2 separate regions of the Homo sapiens genome follow, and region 2 is linked to region 1. Evidence: promoter capture Hi-C in 16 types of primary human blood cells and fetal thymus (Javierre and others, 2016). All regions are on one chromosome and are shown on one strand. Each heading gives the region's core, a stretch centred on a gene start or on the middle of the fragment in contact. The rest is flanking DNA. Distances are from core to core; before and after follow the strand shown.

Region 1 (3,961 bases), core at 1,061-3,560:
TTTAATGAGAAAAAAAGTCAACTCAGCTATCAACTACCTAGGACAGCCTCAGGGCAAGCAACTGGGAGTAACAGGTCCAGCTCTGCCTGAACATAGTGTAGGCACACTGCCCAAGCTGTGTATAGTAGGACGAATAAAGCATAACGGTTAAGAGGGTGGTTCTTTTTTTGAGACAGAGTCTTGCTCTGTCGCCAAGGCTGGAGAACAGTGGTGTGATCTTGGCTCGCTGCAACCTCCACCTCCCGGGTTCAAGCGATTCTCCTGCCTCAGTCTCTCAAGTAGCTGGGATTACAGGCATGGGCCATCACACCCAGCTAAGTTTTGTATTTTTGGTAGAGACAGGGATTCTCCATGTTGGCCAGGCTGGTGTTGAACTCCTCACATCAAGTGATCCGCCCGGCTAATTTTTGTATTTTTAGGTAGAGACGGGGTTTCACCATTTTGGCCATGCTGGTCTGGAACTCCTGACCTCAGGTGATCCGCCCAGATGGGCCAGGCGCGGTGGCTCACCCCTGTAGTCCCAGGTACTTGGGAGGCTGAGGCAGGAGAATTGCTTGAACCCGGTGGGTGGAGGTTGCAGTGAGCCGAGATCGCGCCACTGCACTCCAGCCTGGGTGTGACAGAGTGAGACTCCATCTCAAAAAAAAAAAGCATAGGCTGGGTGTGGTAGCTCACGCCTATAATCCCAGCACTTTGGGAGGCCGAGGTGAGTGGATCACCTGAGCTTAGGCATTCAAGACCAGCCCGGGCAACATGGCAAAAACCCATCTTTACTAAAAATAAAAAAATAAAAAAAATAGATGGGCATGGTAGCACTTGCCTGAAGTCCCAGCTACTCAGGAGGCTGCAGTGGGAGGATCGCTTGAGCCCAGGAGGTGGAGGCTGCAGTGAGCTGAGATCACACCACTGCACTTGAGCCTGGGTGACACAGTAAGACCCTGTCTGAAAAAAAAAAAAAAAAAAAAGATACTATACTTTGCCAAGAATAAAGTGTTATAAATGTGCTCTGTGCACACTAAGCACAACAGCTGTGATGAAGACCAAGTAGAGACAAACTGAAGGTTCATCAGCCTATGCCCAAAATTTTCCATCTCTGTACCACTTAGGTTTTAGCAATTGGAGAATTCTTGCTATACTTCCTTGAAATATAAGCACCCAAATATTTTCATAGAACATTCCTAGTCACTGTAGTATGGGAGTAGTAAGAAAAGGAAGTTTGAAATAGAAAAAAAAGCAGCAAACAATAGCATGAAGTAGAAACTTGACCTGTCCCTTAATGGTTTCTGCAATGACGTTTTTGGCAGAAGCTTCCAATTCTCCGTTGAACTGGTCACCCAACATCCGAAGGCGACCAGCAATGATAGCCACATCAAAAGAACAAGGCTCTCCTATGACAGAGGGAACACATTTGTTACAATGCTTGAAGCAATGGCAAGTCCCAGGAATCTGGGCAATGAGAAAAATTTGTCTTGTCTTTTAAATAATTTTCATATCATGATCTCCCAAGAGCTTAAATGTTCTGTCAACACCAATAGTCAGAAAGTTTCCCTTCATTGAGAACCTCTTTCGCTTTAGGTGTTACTGAAAGCTTAGAGTTTGCCTTTTGAAACTTAAAGGAAATAAATAAAATATACTGTTTTTTTTTTTTTGAGACCGAGTCTCTGTCGCCCAGACTGGAGTGCAGTGGCGTGATCTCAGCTCACTGCAACCTCCGCCTCCCAGGTTCAAGCAATTCTCATGCCTCAGTCTCCCATGTAGCTGGGACTGCAGGCATGAGCCACCACACCTGGCTAATTTTTCTACTTTTAGTAGAGATGGGGTTTCACCACGTTGGCCAGGCGGATCTCAAACCCCTGACTTCAGGTGATCCACCCACCTTGGCCTCCCAAAGTGCTGGGATTACGGGAATCAGTCACTGCGCCCGGCTGAAAACATACTCTTATTGACCTGCAATCACCGCCTAGGGCAGGAACCTTACCTGAATCTACTTCATCTACACAGCATAGGTTCCGGCTGGCAACCTGCAATGTTGGGCTCAAGAAGTCCATGAGTAGAGTGTTCACAATGCATTCCGTTTGTTCCTCAAAAGTTTGGGAGCTCTTCATTTTAGATGTTTGCTGTCAAGTTTTGCTTTTCCACGAAACAAGCAGTTTTCAGCCCAGCAGGAAGTTAAAAACACTGGTAAATCAACAAATGTTTCTACCTCTTGTAGTTTCCTGACATGTAATCCTGGAACTTTTCCCACTAGCTTTCTTCAAACACAGCTGCTCAGAAAGGTGGGACTTCTCAGAAGGATTACCTACTTGGAACTGGGGAGACTTTAAAGACTTTAGGTTCTCTATCTCAGACCACACCCTAACCACATAAAATTAATGCTTAACTTTTATCGTTAGGTAGCCAACCTAGAACTGAAATAGAGTTCAGGAAGAGCCTCTGGAGTAATTTTATTAAGAAATACTTCCTCGACTTCTTAGGTCCTGCACATGGTATAATTTGAAGGAAGGTTTTGAAGTTACAGTGGACCAGCGTTCAACTTCTGTTTATGGAATTTATTTGCCATAATCATATAATAATTACTTACTGAACAAGGAACTATAGTTGGCACTACAAGTAACATAGAAAAATGATACAGGCACAGTTACTGTGCTCATGAAGCTTACACTTCAGCAGAAATGACAGATATTAAATGAGTAATCGCATTGTTATTTGTGCTATTGAGATCAGTGCACTTTGATCAGTGAAGTGTAACAGGGAATCAAGCCTTTGATCAGTTTAATAGGGAAACAAACCTAGGGGACTGGGAAGGCTTCCTTAAAATAGTACCATCTGACATGAGCTCTGAGGAATAAGTAGGCATTCATTATGCAAAAAGGAGGCATAACACTATTCTAGGCGGAGAGGTAGCAGATATAAAGTCTGGGAAGGTTAAAAAAAAACAACTTGGAATTATAAATGGGGACAACAGAAAATATTTCATAGATAAATTATGAGGATTAAATAAGATAACATGCGGAATGGCCTAGCACTGTTTGGCATACAATAAATGTTAAATGTCCTCCTTTTAGCCCAAGACATAATGACCAGGAGGAAAGAGATCTGAGATTCTCTGTCTAGCAAAAGGATTTTCCTAACAGGGTTGGACTCCATCATTGTTTTAAGAGATCTCATGATTGGACACTTATCTGTAGTGGTTGCCTTCTTAACGTAGCTAAACCTAGATTTTGGGTCTGGGTCTCAGAAGCAGCCATCAAACCTATCAGCAAACTTACCACTCAACCTGTCTGACCTGGTGAAGTTATTAATATTAACAGCTCCAACTAATAAAAGAGTCAAGCATAGGCCGGGCATGGTGGCTCATACCTGTAATCCCAGCACTTTTGGGAGGCTGAGGCGGGCAGATAACCGGAGGTCAGGAGTTCACGACCAGCCTGGCCAACATGGCAAAACCCATCTCTACTAAAAAATACAAAAATGAACTGGGCGTGGTGGTGCATGCCTGTAATCCCAGCTACTAAGGAGGCTGAGGCATGAGAATCGCTTGAACCTGGGAGGCGGAGGTTGCGATGAGTCGATATTACGCCACTGCACTCCAGCCTGGGTGACAGAGCAAGACTCTGTCTCCAAAAAAAAAAAAAACAAAAAAAGATTCAAGCATAAACAGTAAGTCAGTTGTTCAGAATGGAATTTCTATCTTGCAAAATATCAAAGCCAATCTTGTGTTTTCTGTTCCATTCTAAAACACATACAACCACTGCACACCTATTAAAATGGCCAAAATCCAGAACACTGGCAAAACCAAATGCTGGTGAGGATGTGGGTCAGGAACTGTCATTCATTGCTGGTAGGAATGCAAAATGGTACAGCCACTTTGGAAGAGTTTAGCAGTTTCTCACAAAACTAAACATCCTCTTACCATATGATTTAGCAATTATACTCCTTGGTATCTACCCAAAGGAGCTGA
Region 2 (3,961 bases), core at 515-3,014, 770 kb before region 1:
AGATTCTCACAGATCTTTTCAGCAAATCTGTGTGGTACTTCAAATACTATACAAATGGAAGATTTATTCCATTTCTTCAGAGACTTTTTTAGGCTGGGTGTCAACAGAACTTTATCTAATTGATAAATTGGATTTTGGCTTTTCATGAAAAATATAGTAGTTCTGACTCTTTTTTTTGTTTTTGAGAAAGCGTCTCATTCTGTTACCCAGGCTGGAGTGCAGTGGCACGATCTCAGCTCACTGCAACCTCCACCTCCCAGGTTCAAGCGATTCCTCTGCCTCAGCCTCCTAAGTAGCTGGGATTACAGGTGCGTGCCACCATACCCGGCTAATTTTTGTATTTTTAGTAGAGACGGGTTTCACCATGTTGGTCAGGCTGGTCTTGAACTGCTGACCTTGTGATCTGCCTGCCTCAGCCTCCCAAAGTGCTGGGATTACAGGCATGAGCCACCGCACCTGGCTGGCATTTCTGACTTTTAAAAGAATACTTAAAAGTCTGTTCTTTGAAGTATGTGGGAAATAACACTGCTTTCTGGGTTAAACTAAATTACTTTTCACTCTCTTCCAATTCTAACATTCTGTTGCATGATTTTTTTTTGTTTGTTTTTTGGTTTTTTTGAGACAGAGTTTCATTCTTGTCACCCAGGCTGGAGTGCAATGGCACCATCTCAGCTCACTGTAACCTTTGCCTCCCCGGTTCAAGCGATTCTCCTGCCTCAGCCTCCTGAGTAGCTGGGATTACAGGCACCTGTCACCATGCCCGGCTTATTTTGTATTTTTAGTAGAGATGGGGTTTCACCATATTGGCCAGGCTGGTCTCAAACTTCGGACCTCAGGTGATCCACCTGCCTCGGCCTCCCCAAGTGCTGGGCTTACAGGCATGAGCCACTGCTCCTGGCCTGTTGCATGATTTTGAATAAGTAACTCACTCTTTATTTCTCACTCTCTCTTCTCTCCTTCATCATTCAGTTTTCAAAGCACATAATAATCCAGGGAGTTCATTGTTAAACCTATACTTCTGTCAACCATGTACTTGTCAGGCAGGACTTCTCATTGTCAGAAGCTTTCCCTAGGGATGCTTGTAGCAATTGGTGTTACTTAACCTCTTGACTCATTAAAGTAACATGGTTTTTCATGAAGTGAAGTCATCATAACTCCTTATTCTCTGACTTAGTTTGCTTAAGCCAAGCATGTGTCTTGTAGCACAGTACCAGCCTTATCTTGCTCCCTTGATTTGGGCATGATCTGTCTATCCACAATAGACAGAGATGGTTCAGTGTAGTTTTCAAGAGCATGGGCTCTGGAGCCAGAATGGCTGTTTCTGCTCCTCACTCTGGCAGTATGACTTTGTTTTTTTTTTTTTGGAGACAGAGTCTCGCTGTGTCGCCCAGGCTGGAGTGCAGTGGCGTGATCTCGGCTCACTGCAAGCTCCGCCTCCCGGGTTCACGCCATCTTCCTGCCTCAGCCTCCCGAGTAGCTGGGACTACCGGTGCACGCCACCACGCCTGGCTAATTTTTTGTATTTTTAGTAGAGATGGGGTTTCACCGTGTTAGCCAGGATGGTCTAGATCTCCTTACCTTGTGATCTGCCCGCCTCGGCCTCCCAAAGTGCTGGGATTACAGGCGTGAGCCACCGCACCCGGTAGCGGTATGACTTTGGTTAAGTTACTTAACTTCTCTGTGCTTTAGTTTACCCTATCTGTAAAGTGGGGATAATAATAATACCTACCTCATAGGGATGTTGTGAGGATTAATGAATCAATTCACAGAAATGGCTTGAAACTTCACCTACTTTATAAAGTAAGTGCTCAATACATGCTAGCAATGATGATGACAACTTTTGAAGAAAACTGACGATTGGCAAAAAATAATTCCTTAACAGAAAGATATTTAGATTCTTTTTCTTGTTATTAGGTGGCACTGGTACCCGGGTGATTTGCTCAGATTGTTATGACAATGCCAACATCTACTCCAGGACCCGAGAATACTGTCCATACACCTATATTGCTGAGGAGGACGTTCTTGATCAGACACTGTCCAGCCTCATGGTCCAAATGCCTAAAGAGACATATTTAGTACATCCTCCCCAGGATACTACTGCCCTAGAGAGCCTGATACCGTCAGCCAACAGAGAGCCATCTGCCTTTCCCACCAACCATGAGAGGATAAGTGAGAAGAAACTTCCCTCCACACAGATGAGCGGTGGTAAGGGATGTATTTTTGTTGTTATTTTGTTTTTACTTTCGTCTAATTGACTCTTCCTTCTATCATATAGGTAGTGCTCTCATTTGACAGGAAGCAAGCAGATGGGTATATAGGAGTAACTGGCCATTGTTAAATGGTATAAACTATAGCCAGAGATTTCTGCATACTAGAGTTACAAAGAAGTCTTCATCTATAGGATGGAAACAACTTTTGTGGGGGTAACAGGATCACACTACTGAAAATTCAGAGGCCATACACAAAAAGCTTTTAAAAGGTTTCATACAGGCTATTTATTTATTTATTTGAGACAGAGTATCACTGTGTCATCCAGGTTGGAATGTAGTGGTGCAATCTTGGCTCATGCCAACCTCTGCCTCCCTGGTTCAAGCAATTCTCATGCCTCAGCCTCCCAAGAAGCTGGGACTACAGGCGTGCACCACCACACCCAGCTAATTTTTGTATTTTTAGTAGAGGTGGGGTTTAACCATGTTGGCCAGGCTGGTCATGAACTCCTGACCTCATGTGATTGCCTGCCTTGGCCTCCCAAAGTGCTGAGATTACAGGTGTGAGCCACCGCACCCGGTATCATATAGGGTATTAATTTTTCTCCGATCTTTATTTAAATAAAAGAATAAAATATGGGGGGCCGGGCACAGTGGCTCACGCCTGTAATCTTAGCACTTTCGGAGGCCAAAGCAGGTGGATCATTTGAGGTCAGGAGTTTGAGACCAGCCTGGCCAACATAGGGAAACCCTGTCTCCACTAAAAATACAAAAATTAGCCTAACATGGTGGTGCATGCCTGTAGTCCCACCTACTCGGGAAGCTGAGGCACGAGAATCACTTAAGCTCGAGATGGAGGTTGCAGTGAGCTGAGATCGTGCCACTGCACTCCAGCCTGGGCAACAGAGTGAGACTCTGTCTCCAAAAAATAGTAATAATAAAATTTGGGCATAATTTGGTGATGGTTTTTACTGAGAAGATTTTTTTTTTTTTTTTTTTTGGGAAATGGAGGTTCGCTCTTGTTTCCCAAGCTGGAGTGCAATGATGCCATCTCGGCTTACCAGGACCTCCGCCTCCCGGGTTCAAGCAATTCTCCTGCCTCAGCCTCCTGAGTAGCTGGGATTACAGGCATGTGCCACCATGCCCAGCTGATTTTCTATTTTTAGTAGAGATGGGGTTTCTCCATGTTGGTCAGGCTGGTCTCAAACTCCCGACCTCAGGTGAGCCACCCACCTTGGCCTCCCAAAGTGCTGGGATTACAGGCATGAGCCACTGTGCCCGGCCTACTGAGAAGTTTTTTTTTTTTTATTTGAGATGGAGTCTAGCCCTGTTGCCCAGGCTGGAGTCCAGTGGCGTGATCTCAACTCACTGCAACCTCTGCCTCCCAGGTTCAAGCGATTTTCCTGCCTCAGCCTCCTGAGTAGCTGGGATTACAGGCATGTGCAACCACAACCGGCTAATTTTTTGTATCTTTATAAGATGGGGTTTCACCATGTTGTCCAGGCTGGTCTCGAACTGCTGACCTCGTGATCTGCCTGCCTTGGCCTCCCAAAGTGCTGGGATTACAGGCGTGAGCCACCATGCCTGGCTGAGAAGAGTTTTAAATGTTTTGTTTTGTTGCTGTTTTAGCAGGTAAACATTTAATTTCAGCTTCACTTGGCGGGTGTTTTTTTCTATGAGGTATGATCAAGGTCATAAGTGAGAACGCAGTTTTGGGCTTGTGTCCCCTGTCTCACATGGCCCAGGAAAAGAAA

The links. Contacts are between HindIII fragments. The CHiCAGO score rates a contact against its expected background, and 5 or more counts as called.
Region 2: a fragment that was not itself captured here is called in contact with the fragment with the promoter of BCL2L15 in region 1 in 1 of 17 cell types (erythroblasts); the score reaches 5.7 in erythroblasts.

What each region holds. Positions count from the first base shown.
Region 1 is chr1:113,885,271-113,889,231 of GRCh38, forward strand. It overlaps BCL2L15 (BCL2 like 15), which reads right to left and starts at 2,311. Exons shown (of 4, transcript NM_001010922.3): 1 at 1,979-2,311; 2 at 1,267-1,388. The coding sequence starts at 2,105. All of the region lies in intron 3 of AP4B1-AS1 (AP4B1 antisense RNA 1), which reads left to right. The HindIII fragment of the contact is 1,067 bases long and covers 1,587-2,653 here.
Region 2 is chr1:113,117,319-113,121,279 of GRCh38, forward strand. It overlaps LRIG2 (leucine rich repeats and immunoglobulin like domains 2), which reads left to right. Exons shown (of 18, transcript NM_014813.3): 17 at 1,915-2,205. Among named protein-coding and RNA genes, the nearest start is that of LRIG2, 46 kb to the left of the region's middle. The HindIII fragment of the contact is 1,406 bases long and covers 1,062-2,467 here.